7 separate regions of the Homo sapiens genome follow, and regions 1, 2, 3, 4, 6 and 7 are each linked to region 5. The links are contacts of gene promoters, found by promoter capture Hi-C in blood cells and fetal thymus (Javierre and others, 2016). All regions are on one chromosome and are shown on one strand. Each heading gives the region's core, a stretch centred on a gene start or on the middle of the fragment in contact. The rest is flanking DNA. Distances are from core to core; before and after follow the strand shown. Region 1 has its middle 57 kb from the start of SYPL1. Region 2 has its middle 95 kb from the start of NAMPT-AS1. Region 3 overlaps PRKAR2B (protein kinase cAMP-dependent type II regulatory subunit beta). Region 4 has its middle 66 kb from the start of NAMPT. Region 5 holds the start of CCDC71L (coiled-coil domain containing 71 like). Region 6 has its middle 83 kb from the start of SYPL1. Region 7 overlaps NAMPT (nicotinamide phosphoribosyltransferase).

What was found. The method cuts DNA at HindIII sites, captures the fragments that hold promoters and counts their contacts. A CHiCAGO score of 5 or more calls a contact.
Region 1: a fragment that was not itself captured here is called in contact with the fragment with the promoter of CCDC71L in region 5 in 7 of 17 cell types (M1 macrophages, M0 macrophages, endothelial precursors and 4 more); the score reaches 11.7 in M1 macrophages.
Region 2: a fragment that was not itself captured here is called in contact with the fragment with the promoter of CCDC71L in region 5 in 1 of 17 cell types (neutrophils); the score reaches 6.0 in neutrophils.
Region 3: a fragment that was not itself captured here is called in contact with the fragment with the promoter of CCDC71L in region 5 in 13 of 17 cell types (M2 macrophages, M1 macrophages, M0 macrophages and 10 more); the score reaches 11.9 in M2 macrophages.
Region 4: a contact is called between a fragment that was not itself captured here and the fragment with the promoter of CCDC71L in region 5, in 2 of 17 cell types (neutrophils and endothelial precursors). The highest score is 8.0, in neutrophils.
Region 6: a fragment that was not itself captured here is called in contact with the fragment with the promoter of CCDC71L in region 5 in 2 of 17 cell types (neutrophils and monocytes); the score reaches 5.7 in neutrophils.
Region 7: a fragment that was not itself captured here is called in contact with the fragment with the promoter of CCDC71L in region 5 in 1 of 17 cell types (M1 macrophages); the score reaches 5.8 in M1 macrophages.

The regions. Positions count from the first base shown.
Region 1 is chr7:106,168,330-106,171,029 of GRCh38, reverse strand. No RefSeq gene overlaps it. Among named protein-coding and RNA genes, the nearest start is that of SYPL1, 57 kb to the right of the region's middle. The HindIII fragment of the contact is 1,930 bases long and covers 393-2,322 here.
Region 2 is chr7:106,379,199-106,381,999 of GRCh38, reverse strand. No RefSeq gene overlaps it. Among named protein-coding and RNA genes, the nearest start is that of NAMPT-AS1, 95 kb to the right of the region's middle. The HindIII fragment of the contact is 167 bases long and covers 1,226-1,392 here.
Region 3 is chr7:107,150,716-107,153,415 of GRCh38, reverse strand. It overlaps PRKAR2B (protein kinase cAMP-dependent type II regulatory subunit beta), which reads right to left. Exons shown (of 11, transcript NM_002736.3): 7 at 2,393-2,494; 8 at 165-239. Among named protein-coding and RNA genes, the nearest start is that of HBP1, 17 kb to the left of the region's middle. RefSeq lists an enhancer at 340-1,539. The HindIII fragment of the contact is 2,140 bases long and covers 292-2,431 here.
Region 4 is chr7:106,217,419-106,220,118 of GRCh38, reverse strand. No RefSeq gene overlaps it. Among named protein-coding and RNA genes, the nearest start is that of NAMPT, 66 kb to the left of the region's middle. The HindIII fragment of the contact is 1,792 bases long and covers 386-2,177 here.
Region 5 is chr7:106,659,676-106,662,605 of GRCh38, reverse strand. CCDC71L (coiled-coil domain containing 71 like) reads left to right here and starts at 1,448. Exons shown (of 1, transcript NM_175884.6): 1 at 1,448-2,930. The coding sequence starts at 1,710. The coding sequence ends at 2,417. RefSeq lists a silencer at 2,005-2,274 and an enhancer at 2,625-2,674. The HindIII fragment of the contact is 5,408 bases long and covers 1-2,930 here.
Region 6 is chr7:106,194,300-106,197,280 of GRCh38, reverse strand. No RefSeq gene overlaps it. Among named protein-coding and RNA genes, the nearest start is that of SYPL1, 83 kb to the right of the region's middle. The HindIII fragment of the contact is 2,236 bases long and covers 506-2,741 here.
Region 7 is chr7:106,252,823-106,255,522 of GRCh38, reverse strand. It overlaps NAMPT (nicotinamide phosphoribosyltransferase), which reads left to right. Exons shown (of 11, transcript NM_005746.3): 9 at 1,019-1,159; 10 at 2,372-2,506. Among named protein-coding and RNA genes, the nearest start is that of NAMPT, 31 kb to the left of the region's middle. The HindIII fragment of the contact is 3,841 bases long and covers 1-2,700 here.

The sequences.
Region 1 (2,700 bases), core at 108-2,607, 490 kb after region 5:
ACAGTCCCTCTGCAAGCTAATCTCAGAAACGACATCCCATCATTTTTATTGTATTCTATTTGTTAGAAGCAGATCTTAGGTCCAACTACACTCAAGGGGAGGGGATTACACAGGGCGTGAGTACCAGGAGGCCAGGATCATTGAGAGCCATTTGAGAGACTGCCTAACACAGTATCATTTGAGCCCCTGGAGGCAGCCATGCCTGAAGCCTGATTCCTCCTAGTCTTCTCAGTTATGAGAGGTGATATATTCTCTCTTTGTAAGAATCAGTTCAAGTTGGGTTTCTGTCATGTCATGTGTAGCCCAAAGACCTCTTCACTAAAACGTTAATACGCATCCTGAAGGTCCACACCAATAAAACCAGAGTGGCAAGAGAGTTCATCAGACAAGCTTTCCCTGGAGTGGATGCAATTCTTTTTTAGGTTTTATTGTTTTGTTTTGTTGTTTTGGCAGCTCTATGCCCAGTGCCTACCAAGCAGAATTCTTAACTGTTCTGTACAATCCTTGATGGTATTTTTGGACTTATTCTGCCTGGTTATAAAAATCTAGCATTCTCAGATTCTTCTCAGCTAATTTAGCATGCCTGTGTGCAGTGTGAGAGCATGCCAAACTCAAAATTTTCCTGCCAAAAATGACAGTAACTAGAATTAGACCATCAGGAGTGCAATTAGTTTAGACATGCTATTAACACCCCAACCATGAACACAGAAGGAAAAGCTGGAAAAAATGGAAAGTTAAAAGAAAAATAAGTTAGCTCAGTTAATGGCAAACAATAAAATAAATTTCTACCCTGAATTCGATGTTGTTGTGGTTTTGGTTGTTTGTAAATGATGCAAAATTTTAACAATCACTTGCATAAATTTAGCAGAAAAACAACCTACCATGTGTCTCTGGCTAATAAACTATACTGTGGAGAATACTGAGATTTGAGAATTTTCCCTTCTACACCCAGCCTTAAAATGTATTCTCTTTAGCACCCAATCACGGTGGATGGTATCACTTATCTCTCAGACACTCAACCATGACATAAAAGCTGTATGAGTTGGTTTGCTTTATGAAAGATATCATCTGTGTGTGTATTGCCTAAATATGTGTGTGTGTGTGTGTGTGTGTGTGTGTGTGTGTATCTAGATATATTTTTAAACACCGGCTCTTACTACATTGCCCAGGCTAGAGTGCAGTGGCTATTCATGGGTGCAATCACAGCACATTGCAGCCACAAACTCCTGGGCTCAAACGATTCTCCTACCTCAGCCTCCTACCTCAGCTGAGGGCACCACTACACTCACCTCATAAAATACATTATTTAAAAAAAAAAATTCAGCCACTCTTTTGAGACAAGGTCTCATTCTGTTGCCCAGGCTCGAGTGCAGTGGCACGATCTCGGCTTGCTGTAGCCTCGACCTCCTAGGCTCAAGCCATTCTCCCACCTCAGTCTCCTGAGTAGCTGGGACCACAGGTGTGCCCCACCATATCCAGCTAATTTTTTTTCTTTTTTGTAGAAACAGGGTCTATGCTGCCCAGGCTGATCTTGCACTCCTGGGCTTAAGTGATCCTCCCACCTTGGCCTCCCAAAGTGTTGAGATTACAGGTATCAGCCACCACGCCTGGCCAGTAATTATATTTTTAATAGGAGATGCTCACATGCACAACAGGGTTCCACTCTCCTCTACCATCAGGGGTTGTCAAACTTGAGTATGCTTCCAAATCATCTGGGGGCTTGTTGAAACAGATGGCTGGACCCCATCCCTGAGTTTCTGATTCAATTGGTCTGGGGTGAGGACCTAGAATCTGCATTTTGAACCAGTTTCCAGCTGATGCTCCTGCCGGTTGAGGACCAGTGCTCCAAAAGCTGAAGGGAACTTGTTCTTCTCACAGCCACTCTTAGGCCCCTGGCTCACTCATGGGGCCTCTAGAACTCTCACCTTTCTCTGGCATTGCTAATTCTCCAACCGCCATCCCTCTCTTTCAAGTCCATTCCTCCTAGCCACCAAGAAAGGCAACCCAATTTTGTGACATTTCTAGCATTCGTTAGCTTAAAAAATTTAATTTCTGATGACATCTTTCTCATTCTAAATAAATGTTCCTTTTTGTATCTAGTTTTTATTCCAAATTTTGTGCTCTCTCGCTTACAGACCACTCACATACACACAATTACGTCAACCTTCAGGCCCCACCAGACTAATAGTCCATTATCGCATTGCTATAAAGAAATACTTGAGACTGGGTAATTTATAAGAAAAGTGGTTTAATTGGCTCATGGTTCTGCAGGCTGTACAGGAAGCATAGAGGTTTCTGCTTCTGGGGAGGCCTCAGGAAGCTTCTGATCATGGCAGAAGGTGAAGGGGGGGCTGGCATTTCTCATGACAGAAGCAGGAGCAAGAGAGAGCAAGGCAGGAGGTGCCACATACCTTTAAACAACCAGATACTACAAGAACTCACTATCATTACGACAGTACCAAGAGGATGGTGCTAAACCATTCATAAGAAACACCCCCATGATCCCATCACCTCCCACCCGGCCCCACCTCTAACACTGAGAATTACAATTGAACATGAGATTTGGGTGGGGACATAGAGCCAAAACATATCAACCACAAAACCTGGACTGGCTTCACTGCATGGAGCTCTTCATGGGAGGGGCCTGAGAGAGGGAGACTACCTAAAGTAGCTGTTCGGTATCTCCAAAAACTCCCCCTA
Region 2 (2,801 bases), core at 60-2,559, 280 kb after region 5:
GCAGAACTTCAGAAATCTCCAAATGTCTCCAAATTCCAATTTTTCAGCATCTAAATGATATCTCCCACACTGCCTCTCACATCTGGAAAAAGCACAAAACCCTTTGTGGACAATATGACTGGCTGATTGTCTTTGAAAATGATTCCTGTAGCTATTCATAGATGTCATGAACTCATTTGTCCAACATGTGTATAAGCACCTATGTGTGCCAGTCTAATACTGTCACTGAAAACACAAGGAAAACGGCCCAGGAGTTATAGACGAGTAGTTACAGATATGTCTGTAGGATCTGAGTTCCTAATACACAAAATTGGAAAAGATATATGCAGCGGAGGAGCCCACCATTCCCACTGCTGTACCTGTTGAGATACATCATTGTAGTGAAGTTCCCTGAGCACATTTTCCCCACGCCATCAAATCTAGATTTGAGTCATTAGACCAAAGAACACAGCTCCACAGAAGCACTTGCCTATTTTGACCATCAGATGCTGTGATCACAGTTGCTGAAAGTAGAGTCCCTGGAGAGATCTGATAAGAAAGCAAAGACTGGAGAGAAGGGATGTCAAACTGCTGCATCGTGGTGGCAGATGTGCACATGGAGGGAACACAGAGGGGCACACCAGAAACATCCTCAAAAAACAAACTGCTCACTGTGGGAACTTAAAGTCTATGGAAAGCTAAGTGACTGCACCCCATGTGTGGTAAGTTAGGACAAGTTGCTTGTCTCTGATGCTCTGTCTCCTACATATTGCTGTTTGCTACCCCACCCCCCAAAAAAAGCATTTTTATTACCCCTCTCCATACACTCATTCTTTCTTTCCCACAGTGTACTTAGCCCTCTGAGTCCCTTTCTTCCTTCAAAGAACAGGGCCCCGCAAGCCTTTGCCCTTTCTCGTTCTATGCAAAGGATAAACCTTACTAAATGTAACCTATGTTTGCAAACTTGGTGTCCCCCACTAACTTATATATAGTAGGTCCTGGCTTCCCTCTTTGAAGACCCTATCCGCTCTAGTATATCTGGGGACAAGGGTTATCTCACGAAGCTACGCCATTAATCTGCAGCCACAGTTGTGCCTGCAACATTCCTTCCATCCATATCTTTAGCTTCTGCTCCTCCTCAGATCTCATTTATTTTGCTGCCAGTCCCTCCCAGAGTTGTCCTGTGAGCTGTTCTTGTGATCACTGAGGCCTCTAATTCCCTCAATAGCATGGCTAAACCTAAGCTTGAATGAGTAACAGGACTTTAGTAAAGATTTGGAAATGGCACACAGGAATGATCACTTTGAGAAAGTCAAAACTGATACTAGAAATGTGGAATCATAAAGTTTACAGGCCGAGCCTCTCCACGTACAACCTTTATTGGGCACCTCTCAGCCCAGCTCCCAGCAAGCTTCACTAGTCCTAGACTCTGCATTTCCTCCCACCAGAGAGAGGGGAAGAGGCCTCCAGTTTTTCTCTTGCCCATAGGGTTCTTGTCTGCAATCCTGGTCTCAATATTCCCCAGGTTCTCTCTGTTTTCTCCCCTTTGTGCATGATTAACAGCTGAAATGTCCTTCCCATTCAGGGAGAGTTGGTCTTACCTTGGACAATGAACTAGGAGGCAGTAAATTACACATCAGTCCTTTTCCAAAGTCTGAGTTAGTATAGAATGTCGCAAATAGTGCTGCTTCAAACAAGCCCCACTTTAAATCTGGGCCCCCTGGTGATCTCTTCACCAGCCTGAGTAAGGATAGGACTCCAGTGCCCCACACTCACCCCCGAGAGCTTCCAGCCTCCACTCCAAAAAGGACATCCACATATTTTTCAAGAAAGCAAAACAATTTTCATAGGCTCTGCAGAATAAATCTTTAAACATTTTCCTGTAGAAAACAATTTGCAGAACTGCAACACCATCCACGATGAAAACAGCCTTTTATGTTTTTGTGCATGACACCGGAACCCCTCGGAAAGGCAGGGTCTAAATTTCTGTATTTGAGAATATTTACTTTTCCTTTTAATAACTAAATATCCATTGTAGTGTCTTTCCAGAACAAAGGAATATTTACCCCAGAGGACAATATTTGTCCCCCTGTTTTATAATACATCACACAAGAAAAGCTTTGAAAGTACAGGGTTTTTGTTTTTGTTTTTTTTCCAAGATTTCAAAGATCCCAAGATAAATTCTTTGTTAGGGATCAAGATCAAAGAGTTATGCCTTTCCTTTCCCCCAGGAGTCTCTGCCAGAAGGATGTTTTTCCCAAGCATATGGCCTAAAGTGGGGAGCCTGCATCATGTTTTGTCAGCAGGGTTACACAGATCCGTGATGGGGGAGGCATGGGGAGCTCCCGGAAAGGTCTTTAACATCTGCGCCCGGGCAGCAGGGCCTTGGTGTAAAGGCAGATGCTAATGACCATAAGCCAGGTGCCCTGATTATAGTTTCACATCCACCAGGGCTTGGAAAGCTATTAACTCCTAATCCCCAGCCCCTTTTCGGTCATCCCTTGTAGAGGCTAGCTCCAGAGCTGGTGGAACCCATGGCAGTGTGTCCATATCCGTGTATTCACTTTTAGGTTTGTAAATTCAGATATGGCAGGAATCAAATTCCTATAACCCCCTCTCTACACAGAGCATCTCACATGCACAGTCCTAGAATGCTAAACTTAGATGGAACCTTAGAGTTTCTCTAATCCAACCTCATCATTCATTCAGATAAATTAATTGAGGTCCAGAAGTAAACTTGTATTGGCAAAGTTGCAGAGTTGGTTCACCCCAGAGCGGAGACATACCCACAAGCCTCCTGTGTTCTTCCAGGTATTCTTCCC
Region 3 (2,700 bases), core at 112-2,611, 490 kb before region 5:
CTATAAATGAAACCATTTTTAACAGGTCATTTGGTAGAAGTAATATTTATTTAACCCATCACTGCATACTAATTTTAGAAATATGAAAAGTTTATCAAGATCTACCACTACAGGAACCTTTTGGAATATAACCCTAAACTGAATTACATTTCAAAATATCATACCTGAGCAATGATTTGTTCTCCATCGTTGTATACTTTGGTGCCTATCACATCTACTACTTTCAGGCGTTCAGAAAACTACAAAGAAAGAAAAACAATATTAAATAGAAACAAATTAACTGGGTAAGCTTATCTAGTTCGGGAGTAAAAAACTGGTAGCCTATAGGCCAAATAAATCGAGCAGTGTGTAGGTTGTATATGTGTTTGTTGTATTAATTACCAGCCAGCATTTTAAAATAATTTTTCATAAAAATTCAATCTCCAGCTTCTCTTGAAAAATCAGCATCACATAGCCCATATTTCCACATGGCAACAATAAAACTATGGTGGGATAGCAGCTGTTTCTTTAATGAAATACATGTTCTCCAATCTGCCAAAGTCCCTTCCTGGCTTGGTTTTCTTCTCTGTGTTACCTGCCTAGCTCTGAAGGCACCAGATTTCCAATCCCTGACCTACTCTTATTTAAAGAAATATGCTGCTGGAAAAGATCAGCTGTCTACCACGCACTGTGTGATGTGGACAAAATTTTTACCAGATGTAAGCTGATAATCCAACAGAGACATTCAAAAGGAGAAGCACTGCTGTTTTGACACTTGCCATTTTATAAGATGTTGTGGGTACATATATATGCCTGTCTTTAATTACTCTCAAAATACTTCAAATATGACAGTGAAATAGAAAAGCATTTAATTTAATGATGAAGTATGGAAAATGAAGCTGAATTTTTAGGGTAACAACAACCTACTCTCTCTCATAAGTCTCTACCTTCAAAGATAAAAACCTAAGAGCTGGTCTCATTGAGAAGACCTCTGGGCTGAGAAATGAAGGAGCCCTGCAGCTGTGTAGGAAGACATTCCAGACAGACGGCAAGTACAAAGACCCCGAAGTGGGTGTGGGACAGGTGTGTTTGAGGAGTGGCAAGAAGCTGATGTGTCAACAGAGAGATGATGAGTGTGGAGCAGTAGGAAATGAGGTTGGGGAAAATGGGTGGGGGAATGGGACAGTCTGTGCAGAGCCTTAGAGGCCATGTGAGGAGGAGCTTAAATAGAGCAGTGCCACAACCAGGGATTTTAAAAGATGACTCTGCAATTAGCCAGGCAAGAGGTGATGGTGGTTCATATGAGTCAGTGCTAACTCGAAGGTTTTTGGCCTGAGACACTGGAAGGATATGTTGCCATCTGCGGGGAAAGAGAAAAGGAGTAGATTTGGGACATACTAGGTTTGAGATGTCTATTAGACATCTGAGAGGAAATCTTACATTTGCAGTTGGATAAGTAAGTCTGACCTTCAAGGGAGGGGCCTTGCCCAGTGATATCAATTTTAAGAAGCATCAATATATGGACAGTACAGGTGGTCCCTGACTTACAGTGGCTTGATTAATGATTTTTCAACCTTACAGTTGTTTGAAAGCGATAGAAACTATACTTCTAATTTTGAGTTTCGATCTTCTCCCAGGCTAGCGATATGCAGTACAACGCCAGGCAGAGAGCCACAACGCCCAGCCAGCCTCACCACAATGAGGTGAACAACCCATGCTCTCCAGTGCACTGTGCTGCCAGGTGACTGTTCCCAGCTGTAGGCTGATGTGAGTGTCCTAAGCATGTTTCAGGTAGGCTAGGCTGAGCTCGAATGTTCCATAGTTTAGGTGTATTAAATACATTTTCTATTTATGATATTTTCAACTCACAATGGGTTTATTCGTAAGGTAACCCCATAGTAAGTCAAGGGACATCTGTATTTAAGGCCATGGGATTCGACATGTTCACCAAGTGAATAAGTGTATCCTGAAAAGAGAAGAGGCCAAGGACAGAGGCCTGGAATGCCAGTTTTAAGAGGAGAAGAAAAGAGGAATAAACAGCAAAGATGACTGAGAGGAAGAGGCCAGAGAGGACATTCTATATCTAGAGAACGCCTCACTGTAAAGTTACAACTAGTGGCTCTTGTCTACATCTATGTGATTATATTAAGTCTGCTATCAGATAAAGACCACATATAAATTTGCTATAGATGCTGGGTAGGAATGTATTACTTTCAAATAACAAAACAAATGAAATTATAGATAGCAGAAGAAACAATGAGTTATAAAAATTAGCACTACCATTTAATCTTTTCAAATAAAAACATGGATAGATTTTTTTTTATTCAAAGAAATTTTTCTATAGAACTAAATATTCCTAGCAAAACAGAAACTTTTAAAGCAAAATAAAATAAAAGCATAAACATATACTTACCTCCAAAGATTTAAGGAATGGCAGTGACTCAATAAAGCTTTCATACATTTTTCTCTTTTTGGCATTGTTTTTCACAATTATTCTCCTGAAGGTTACCCTGTCCTACAGGCAGAACAGTTAAAGGGTAAATTTTATGGGGGTAAAGCTATACAAATAGTTTTATTTTATTCCCTACAAGAAACAATGATTGAAGATTCTGAAATAAAAGATTAACATCATTATACTTTTAATGCAACTCATTTCATATTTTTATTTCGTCAAGCACAAAATATAATACAGAACCACATAAAATACTGTTTTCTTTTTTT
Region 4 (2,700 bases), core at 32-2,531, 440 kb after region 5:
GAGCAGGTCCTTTCTAGGGAATCTAGGGCTGCATCAGGGAGGCAACAGCTTACAAGACTAGATACTCCTGCTGTCTGCAGACACATCATATTTCTGGTCCTTTCCTCACCTTCCTCCTCTATTACCTTGCCCTCATGGTCAATCTAAATCACAGAACTAGGAGGGCTAGAGAGGAAAATGTTCCATGTTAGCTCAAATGCCAAGAAGGAGCCAGTGACTGCAACATATATTTGGAGAAGATCTTATGGAATTAAGCTCAGAATAAACTTTCTGAACCCCAGGTAAATTATCAAAGAATGGGGCTTTATTTGTTCTGCGCCTCTGCATCTATATGAAAAGATAGTCCTGGGCTACTTTCTCCAATCATACAGATTGGACCTAAGCTTGTAAGTGGCTCCCAAGTCAGAAGGTATTTGGATTTGTCTCCTCTCCAAAAGTCCTCAAGCAGACCCTTGATTTTTGTCCCACCCAGTAAACATGCCAAGTGCAAGGTAACTACACAGTTAAAGGAGTAGCAATTAAGTGAAATCTTGGGGAGGAAGGCATGGTTTTTCTACCATGGGAAGGACAGCAGGGACTCCTTCCTCCTAATCTTCCTCCTACTGTCTTCCTGGGAACTGGACTTCTCCTGATTTTGTCTCTCAGCAGGAAGAATGAGGCGGGGCCACATCTAAAGTGGTCATAGCCCCCAGGAGCTGATAGGCAAGGAAGGATCTTGGGTCGACCTGTACAAAAGGGCCCAGAGGAAATCCTTTGTTCTGATGTTGAGACACAGCTGTGTGGAAGGAAACCAGGCACAGCCTGTGCACTGATAGACTGGGGAGGTGAAACACTTCAACCATCCCTTTGTTCTCTAGTGCTGTTGCTCTATCTTCCTTTCTATACCTTCCCCCATCCTACCCCAACAAGAACCAGATAGCGCCTTCCTGAACTGATCAGTTTCTCACCTTGCCTTTTTTAAAAAACCGCCATTGGTACAAACAGATGTGGTAGTGAAGGTGAGTGTGATTTTCCTTCAAGATACAGGATCAGAGACACCTCTGCTTATAGCCTGTCCTACCTGCTCATCACTTTACTATTTGTTTTTGGTTTGGTGTGAACCAGGGTCTGCTCAATCCAACTCTTCTGCTCTCTAACCTTCACACAGTTTCCCCACACAACCTTCCCACATTTTACTAGTAGCTGCCCATTCCTCTCCATCCACAAAGTTACTGAGGGAGAAGCCATGTTTGGGCAGGGTGACCTGACCCCACACACCACCGCATCTCCTTAGCCCAATGGGCCAAGCCCATGTCCTACTCCTGGGGAGCTTGGAATTCATGCAGGAGAGACAGCTCAGAAGCTGTTGACAGTAGCTGGTTTTTGCCAAGTGGATTAGTAAGCAGAGAAAGCTGCTCTGCAGCCAGATGGATGGATGGATGGACTTGCATACAAGCAGGAAAAAGAGAGTGAGGGAAGCCTTAACTGTCCACGGTGCTTTCATTCCTAGTTCCAGAACATCCCTAAGGCCCAGCTGCCTCTTGACTTTGGCTTCGTTGATAATCCTCTAGCTTGAGCTAGTTTATGTGGACTTCTGTTGCTTACCTGAAACCAAAAGAACCCCCATTTATCAGAAATCACCTCTGAATCCATTAGCTGGAGAATGGCCAGAGCTGGAGCACCGTAAGATCTCCCCCCAAAAAACACTCCTGTGAGGCCTGGAAAATCCTCCTACTGTATCATTTGAGCCACATTTTACCATCTCACCCACAAGGGTGAAATGCAAGTTTGGAGAATGACTCCATGACATCCAGACACCTTCTCACTCCCCATTTAACTTTGAGCTGGCACATTAACCACAACTGCCAGCTCACATTCATTTTAGCTGCCATGTTTTAGGAAGGACAGTAATGGTTCACAGTCCTTTATCCAAATTCTTGAAGCCCAGTGTTTTGGAATTCAAAATTTTTCAGATTTTAAGAAGTATGGCCCATTATAAATTACATTATAAATTATATAACTCCCCTGGAAGGGTCTATGACTGTCTCCTAATCAAACAAAATGCACTAATATTTAAAAAATGGAATAAATAATGATTATAAGTAGTTTCATGTCAAGTTTTCCTTCCAAACAGTTTCAGATTAACTCAGGACAGGTGTTGCCTCAAGTGAGTTACTAAAAATCTTAGTTTCAAAGCTTTCAATATTGCAGTCATGAACGATTATGGTTGCCCATTTCACAGATAAGTAAATTGATGACCAAGAAGGCTAGGTACCTTACTCGGGCAGTCTGGCTCTAAAGGCCACAGCCTTCACTACCATCCCATCCTGCCACTCCACTGTTACACTGCCTCTTCAAACTTAACCCTAACCAAGAGTGGCAGGCTGATGCCAGATCTGCTAAACCCTATGGAAAAAATCAGAATGGGAGCTGTTGAACAGAATAGACAAAGCCAAAAAGGAGATGTGGTCATCTTCTTCAGATAGCCATCTTTTCCGCAAATTCTTTCCCTAAGGCCATTTTTAACCAGGGGACACTGGGCTACCAAGGACACTAAGAACAATCTTGCAAGGAGAAAGAGGTGTTGAGGTTCTGAGCGAGAGGTATGCAAAGGATGAGTAGAGGTTAATCCTAATCTTTGCCAAGTAAAGCAAAGGAAAGCTATGAGTGTCAACAGCCTCAGGTCTTTATCTTTTAGTTTGTTCATTCATCACTCATTGG
Region 5 (2,930 bases), core at 199-2,698:
ACAGCTCTGTCCTTCGTCATTCTACTTATGCATAAAGCATGTTCTATTGAATTCCTTAGAGTCTGGACAGCACAGTTTGAAAAACCTTCAGTGAAATACAAAGATCACTAGATTAGAAATCGAAGGATTTAGAATCCCAGTTCTGCTATCAGCCAGCTGTGTTACTGAACCTCTATGGTACAGATTTCCTCACCTGTTAAATAAGGAGAATGAACTAGGTCTCTTTCAGGTCAAATATTTGAGGAAACCATTAGCAACTACATGTAAATCACAAAACTCCTATACTTTATTTGTTCACTACTGCAAAATAAGATGTTTCCTGGGTAAAATCCACATGCCCACCTCAAAGTTCTAAGTGTCAGGAGATTTTTTCTTTTAACCTTAAGAAATTTAAAGGAGTTCTGTGAAAATTGCAATATAAAATATCTAATTGTCCTGTTCTAAGCAGTTTCAACATTTCTGACTCTATTTGGGATAATCGGTGGTATTTCATTGATTCATTCGGCAAACACATTGAGTGTCCACTACCTGACAGGAACTGAGTTAGGTATAGAGGACAGAAAAGATGACTAAAGGATGTCCACTACTCTCCTCCCAATACAAAAGGTAATGTGTTTTGAACAATTTGTGTTTTTCAACGAAACCTTATCTGTTGTCTGCGATGATGCATCCTTTCTAAATGATAGGGGTGGCTTTGACATTTTAAAACTAAATGAAAAACGAATTGGCATCCATAAAGAACTGTGTATTTAAAACTATATTTTCTTTTCACAGAATGGCTTTATTGTAATAGATCTTTGATCAACTTGAGCAAAGAGTATTTAGTTTTATAGGGTATGACATGTTTTGCTTTCTGGATAAGCAGGGTCTCTCTTAAATATGAAGATGGCTCCAGTGTCCAGAGGGAGACTAAAATCTCTCAGCTGCCAGCCACGCACATTACCTGAATGATTCTGGATTACTACTGGCTTCTTGAGATGGGCTGGGGTCAAGACAGGGAAGAGTTTTGAATGAAGATGCCAGAAGAGGCCTTTGAGAGGGTGGATGGGAATTGCGAAAGGCCCATTTCCCCTAGACTTAAACCCAAATTCCCTAGCTGTGATGATACCAGGAACATCCTTCAGGGAAATCTCCCTTTGTTATCCACACTGGTAGAGCTCCCAGCTCAATCCACAACTGCACACCCCCTCACTCTAAGAGTCACTCTTCCCATGGTGTAGCCAACATCCACCCTCTTACTCTAGACGTGGCAGCCCTCCTAGATCCACCCAACCGTTGACTTACGTTCAAAGGCCATCACCCACCCCAGCACCATCTTCCAGGAACTGGCCTCTCCCCCATCAGTCCCCGCCCCTCTTCTGAGAGCACCCAATGGGTGGAGTCGGGGCTGCGGTGGGAGGGGCCTGAGGCGGGCACATTTAAAGAAAGGCAGCCGGCGAAAAGAGGCAAGAGAGGAGAAGAAAGAGAAACCAGGGGGGCGAGGCGCCGTCCAATGACAAAGCCCAGGGGTGGGCGCCGGCCGCCATCTTGTACCGGGCAGCAGGATATTCGCCCGCGTCCTCCGCCCTCGGAGGGGGAGGGGCGGCGGCGGAGGCGAGAAAAGTAGCGAGAGACGCCAGCAGCAGCCGCCGCCGCGGAGCCAACGCGGACTGGGACGGCGGCGGCAGTAGTGGGACCCGGCGAGCGTGAGTGGCCCGGAGCGGCCTTCGATGCGGCGCAGTATGAAGAGGCGGCGGCGCCGGCGCCCGGTCGCCCCGGCCACGGCCGCCCGGGGCGGCGACTTTAGGGCAGAAGACGGGGCTGGGTTGGAGGCGCGGGAGGAGAAGGTGGTGTACTCGCGGTCGCAACTGTCGCTGGCTGACAGCACCAAGGCGCTGGGCGACGCCTTCAAGCTCTTCATGCCCCGCAGCACGGAGTTCATGAGCTCGGACGCGGAGCTCTGGAGCTTCCTCTGCAGCCTCAAGCACCAGTTCTCCCCGCACATCCTGCGCAGCAAGGACGTCTACGGCTACTCCTCCTGCCGGGCCCTGGTACCCGACCCCCCGGGGCCCCCTACAGCCCGCGGCCAGGCGCGCCGGCCGGTTCCGCGCGCAGCGGCCAGGAGGAGGCGCCGCGGAGCCCGGGCGGCCGCTGCCCGCAGGAGGAAGCCCCGGCCGCCACCCCCACCGCCGCCGCCCCCCGAGGAGAGCTGCCCGGCCAAGCCCGTGGCCCCCGGGCCCTGCTTCGGGGGCCGCACCTTGGAGGAGATCTGGAGGGCGGCCACCCCGACGCTGACCACCTTCCCCACCATCCGCGTCGGCAGCGACGTGTGGGGCGAGCGCAGCCTGGCGGCAGCGCGGCGCAGGGCGCGCCAGGTCCTGCGAGTGAACCTGGAACCCATGGTGAGGCTCCGCCGCTTCCCGGTGCCCCGGGCATGAGGTGCGGCCTCCAGGGCGCCTCCTGCCGGCCCCGACCTTGGGACAGGCCTTCCGCCCGGAGGAATGAACAAGTGTCAGTCGAGTGTTTACAGATCCGGCCAGGACCCCGGCCCCCAATGCACTTTACGCGCGAAGAAGTTGCCGGATGGTTGTCCCTGTCCCGGGCCGCGGCGCGGTCGTCTTGGACGCTGGGGCAGGTGTGCCCTCTGCTGCCTCCCGTACCCGGCCTGCGGAGGGAGGGGACAGCTGGACCCGCAGGGGAGGTCCCTTTCTTCCTGACCACCGATTGAGACGTCTCCAGGACCTTAGGGGCAGATCCGTTTTCTCACTGTTGGACTCTACCTCACTGGTCTGGAAGTCCTCCGAAGACATTATTTTTCCAAAGGAATTTGGTTTCGTGCTTGTGTAATAAAGCCAGAATTTACTTGTTCTTTATCTCCCCCTTTTTCTATTTCACTGTCACCCCTCTTTGTGGACAGAAGTTCGAACATGTGGTGTTGCACTAGTTTGTGC
Region 6 (2,981 bases), core at 374-2,873, 470 kb after region 5:
TGAAGTTACAGATTCCTTCCACCAACGTTAAGAACTTGTAAAGCCAGCAAAGCAGCAGATTCTAAAAATCTCAGAAATGCACAGGGCCGGGCATGGTGGCTCACACCTGTAATCCCAGTACTTTGAGAGGCCAAGGCGGGCAGATCGCTTGAGCTCAGGAGTTCAAGACCAGCCTTGGGAACATGGTAAAATCCCATCTGTACAAAAAAATACAAAAAATTAGCCAGGTATGGTGGCATGCATCTGTAGTCCCAGCTCCTTGGGAGGCTGAGTTGGGAGGATCACTTGAGCCTGGTTGCACTGAGCTGTGTTCACACCACTGCATCCCAGCCTGGGTGACAGAGCCAGATCCTGTCTCAAAAACAACAAAAAAAAGTACACAGAGGTGAGAGCACATGTTCCTACAAGTGTCACAGAAACTCAGCTAAATAAACAATGAAGCAATATTAGCATAATCAAAATAAACATTTTTAAGCACAAAGTGTATGAGCCACAGCTTCAAGCTTGTAAACTTTGATTTTTAAAGGGACCAATAGAGGTTAAGTAAACAGACACTTAAACAGAAGTATCACTAGGAAGGGCCACACTCTGAAGCAGCAGTCTACTCAGACTTTGGACTCACAGCATTAGGTCACATTCTGAGTCTGACACTTAGCTGTGCAACCCTGGACAAGTTCCTTAACCTCTCTGGGCCTCAACTCTCCCATTTGTAAAATAAGAACAGTAGACTCCCATGATAGGGTTGGTTGTTGGAATGATTTAAAGAGATAATGCTGGTGAAAATGTTTAGCGTCGTTTCTAGCACACAGTAAACACTGAATTAAAGTTTATTGCTCACTCTTCCGAAGTGATTTGTATCTTTCTGTGGATGATCTAAACTCACAGGCCTCTTTTGATCTGGATATGGAAAATTCTCTATAAGGAATCATTTCATAAAAACATGTGCTTCCTCTCATTCCACTCTATGCAATTCAGTCACTCATTTAGCAAACATTTACTGAATATCTTCCATATGCCAGGCACTGTTCCAGACCCTGGGGTCTAGCAGTGAATAAAACAAAAATCCCTGTCCATTTAGAGCTCACCTTCTGTTGGGGAGAGGTAAGAAATAAACATAATAAGTAAGTTATATAGCATATTAGAATACGCTGTGCTATGCAGAAAAAATCAAGACAGGTAAAGGGAATTCAGAACAGGAAGGGTTGCAGTTTAAATAGGGGAGGTCATAGCAGGCCTCACGGAGAAGGTAACACTTAAGCAAAGGAGGTGAGGGAAAGAGTTACCCAGAGATCCGAGGGAAGAGGGGTCCAGGCAGAAAGGGCAGCCAGTGCAAAGGTCCTGGGGCAAGGCCATGCTTCACGTACTCCAGGATAGCAGGGAGGCGAGCATGGCTAGAGCAGAAGAAATGAGGGAATAGAAGATGAGGTCAGGGCATAGTTGGGGTCCTAACTAAGCCACTGTAAGGACTTTGGTTTCTACTTGAAGAGAAGTAGGGGGCCATTGAGTGGTTTTCAGCCAAGGGTCAAGGTGGGGGCAGGGCGAATTGCAAAGACTGAGGCAGGCAGACCTGTCAGGAGGCTCTTGTCGAAAGTCAAATGAGTGATTATGGCAATCAGAACAGGAAGGGAGCAATGGAGGTGGAGAGAAGTGTTAAGAAGATTCTGGCTATATTGTGAAACTGAGCTAACTGGATGCTATGAAGTGTGAGGGGTGGCGTAGGGTGGGGGCAGATGAGCCTGGTCTGAGCAAATGGGAAAGGACACAGCTGTCAATACTGTAATGGGGAAGGCTGGTGGAGAAGCATCTTAGCAAGGACCAGGTCAGTGATTAGGTGTTTGGCTATGTACACACTGAGTTTGGGATATCAAGGACATAGCTGGAAGTTGGAGGCAGTTGGTTTCTACAGTTCAGGAGAGAAGATATAGAAAGACCTCAATTATGTGTTAGAAACTAAACTGCCCTAGCTATGATCTTTATGTCCTTTGTCCTACTACAATTAGCTTTGAACCCGTGGTTCTCCAATGTTAGTGTTCACAAGAATCACCAGAAACACTGGTAAAATTACTGATTCCTGGGTCTCATCCCCGGAAGTTCTAAATCAGTTGATCTTGTGTGAGGGGACATGGGTCAGGGAAAACAGGAAATTAATATTTTTAAGTTTTTGGGATTCTTTTCCAAGTGGCTCATGGATCGCCATCTGAAAAATCTTGGGATCGTTTCCTCCCCCAACCCCACTTCCTCACTCAAATATTCCAGCCACCTAGGCAATATTCATTTAATTTCTCAAACCACTCAGAAAAATACACCCTCCCTCAAAATATTCCAGATTTAGAAAAAAGTGGCGCTGGACAGACACTTCATTTGAAGGACATTTCACCTGCTATGCACTACAGAGTCTGAATGCTGGTTTGGCTCCACTTCCAGCAGGCGGGCTGTGGCATAATTGGAAAGAGTGTCCAGTGTGGCCCTCAGTCCTTCAGATCTGTGCCCTTTTCCTTAATTCCATATGCCCTCGTGTTGTCCCAGAACCCTTCCATCCGTCATAGAATTAAAGAATTTGGATAATGTGTTTATCTGCAAGTGTTACTGATTCAATCTGTTACTTCTTTCAGAATTGAGCCAGAAGGGAGGGCAACAATTAAACAAAAGTCTTGCTCCCTTATGGTGCAAGAAAGAGAAGAGGAAGGAGATATGTTAGCATATACGGATGCATGACCTCTGGTTTCCCCCGAATACAAGCTTTGTTGCAGCTACCTGTGCTGTCCACGCATGACACTACCTGTGGCAGCCATAAAAATAGACCTTTCAGATCAATGATTGCAGGGAGAATAACTGCCTGACAGCTGAGCTGAGGTGCTCAGAATCCACCACTGTGTTTGTCTGCACAGAGGCCATGCTTCATGCAGGCTGGGGCACAAAGGCAGGTCTATGCCTGTGAAACCAGGACTCTTCCAATGAGGACTTTCGCTTGAGGCCTCCCC
Region 7 (2,700 bases), core at 97-2,596, 410 kb after region 5:
GAAAACAAAGAAAGTCAATTCGAGACTATTAAAAAAGTCAATTTGAGACTATTTGGTGAGAATGTGGTAACTTTGATACACATAAGGCTGTTACACTTATGATTTTCTAATAACTTCTGAAAGTTCTGTTTAAAACAGAGTCAGCCTTTCCAGTTGCTTTCTGTTTGACTATTCTCATGAAATAAATGGTTACCAAACTTCACTTGCCACATTCTATCATCAAAGTGATTGAATATATTAAGGCAGATGCTAGGTAAATAAACTTGACTTTGGTGAAAGAAATACAAATGACATTGGTAATAAACACATCTTTAAAGTTGTATGTCCCTTGAAAGAACTCTTTTAGAACTGTTCATACAGGTCTCTCTAGCTGGTTTATAACTAATCATTCTCCCAAAAATGATACAGTAATCTTAACACCCACAGCACCTGTGCATAATTTTGTTTCTGGCACTGGTATATCAGCCAGAATAAAATGACTCTACCAGTATACCAACTGTTATATAGGAGAAGTATTTTATACTCTTTTGCCACCAATATCTTTGATTCTTACATGTTCCATTACATATGACATGTAATTATACAGTGTATTGTGACTTATTGGTGATGATTACAGTCATTCCTAGAGTCTAGTAAATTGGCTCCCATTGCTTGTGTTGCTGAGATCTGGACAATAACTTAACGAGGTGAATGAGAGAAGTTGACTCAAGTAATCTTAGATATTTATAGCTAGTTTTTTCTCACTTTCTCTCATTTCCTTCACTCCCCGAATCCTACCAGAACCACAGTGACAGCAATGCAGATTCAGGAACTATGCATGAAATCCTCTCCTTCCACACATATCCATCTTTTGGGGGTGGGTGGGTCTTTAAAAACAAAATGCGGGCTATAATTATTTATTGACCGTGTTATAAAACAGTCTTGGATGCTTCATTCATCAATATTGTCCCTTGAAAATAATCTCCATTCTCTTCCAAATTAAGGTTTGGTTTGGTTTTGTTTTGTTTTAATCTTCTAGATTGTAGAAGGCATGAAACAAAAAATGTGGAGTATTGAAAATATTGCCTTCGGTTCTGGTGGAGGTTTGCTACAGAAGTTGACAAGAGATCTCTTGAATTGTTCCTTCAAGTGTAGCTATGTTGTAACTAATGGCCTTGGGGTATGTCACCTTTTAATTACTTCTGTGTTACTACCTTCCTTATGTATCTAGGTAGAATGTGGTTATTGAGTGCATTTGTCAAAGATTGATGTGGCCGTGGACTGTTAATATGTTGTTGGGTACTACTGACCTTAACTCAGAAACAAGGAAAGAAGGGAGATATTAGGTAATAACAGACCTAAGGAGACAGAGATTTGGAAAAAGGAAGAACAATAAGGAAAAAGATTATTTAAGAGAGATAATACAGGTCAGTCATTTCCCACTGCCGTTTTTACCTTTAGATCAAAAAGTAATATTTGAGTAGGAATGTCAGCTTACCTAGCCATCATATATTAAAGACAAGCAAGTATATAATCACTGACCAAACTGTTACAGGAAGGTAGAATATGAGGTTTGGATTGTTATACCACAGTCATGTTCTAGTAGCCATAGAACAGCTAGGCAAGTGAACAACAACCCCCCTTGCTTCTTTGTAACGTCTTGAGAGCTGGAGATTCTATAGAGCAAGGGACAGAGGCAGGAGGATGCTAAGAATTAAGAACACCTGAGTTGATTCCCTGCTTCACTCTTTGATCTTTCTTTGGAAAGTTCTGGGATTGACTCATTTGTTGCTGCTTGTTCCACTGCCACTTGTTTCTGTTTCTTTGCTGCCTACCTTTCTGATGTAGAAACACTCTGCTGTCTTCAGGTTCTCTAAGACTTTTGCTTCTGACAATAACAAGGCAAAAGTAAAAAGTACCAAAAGAGGGATACGTTATGAAATAGGAAAGCCTTTACCTTAGTAATACTCTTGTTCCCTCTCCAAAGATTGTGTGTGTGGTTTTGGCGTAGTTGGTATAGTTGGGCTTTTCTTCAACAGCATGTACATGCTGTGCTTACTGTCAGTTTAAAGGCAGTTTGTAATATAAAGAGATACCTTAAGGGTCACATGTTAGAATGCTCACAGACTTCCTACAAATGGAGTATTAGGTGTTCTTCAGTGGCAAAAAGGATATCCAAGATGTCATACTTTTTCTTTATTACAAACGACTATCCTTCAAAACAGGCTAAAGTGTTATGTTTCTGAAAGCCAGATGTGGATTGGTTCAGTTATACCTATTAAGTGCTTAAAACTTAAATGTAAATTATGTATGTGCTTTTTTGTAAGGGAGTGTTTAGACATTTCTGATGATTAGTCTTCTACTTGTCTAACTTTCTTAATTTGGATTTCAGATTAACGTCTTCAAGGACCCAGTTGCTGATCCCAACAAAAGGTCCAAAAAGGGCCGATTATCTTTACATAGGACGCCAGCAGGGAATTTTGTTACACTGGAGGAAGGAAAAGGAGACCTTGAGGAATATGGTCAGGTATGTATCTATGCTGATTGGTTTTTTTAAGCAATAGTAGGTTGGCTCACCAAATTAATAAGAAAGGAGGTTTTTATGTTATTGTTTTTGTGGAAGACAAAGTATTATATTTTATTATAAAATGTCCAATTGCTGACCTGGCCTACCAAAATAAGATACAAAACAAGTGTCTACGTCATAAACACGGGGCCTGT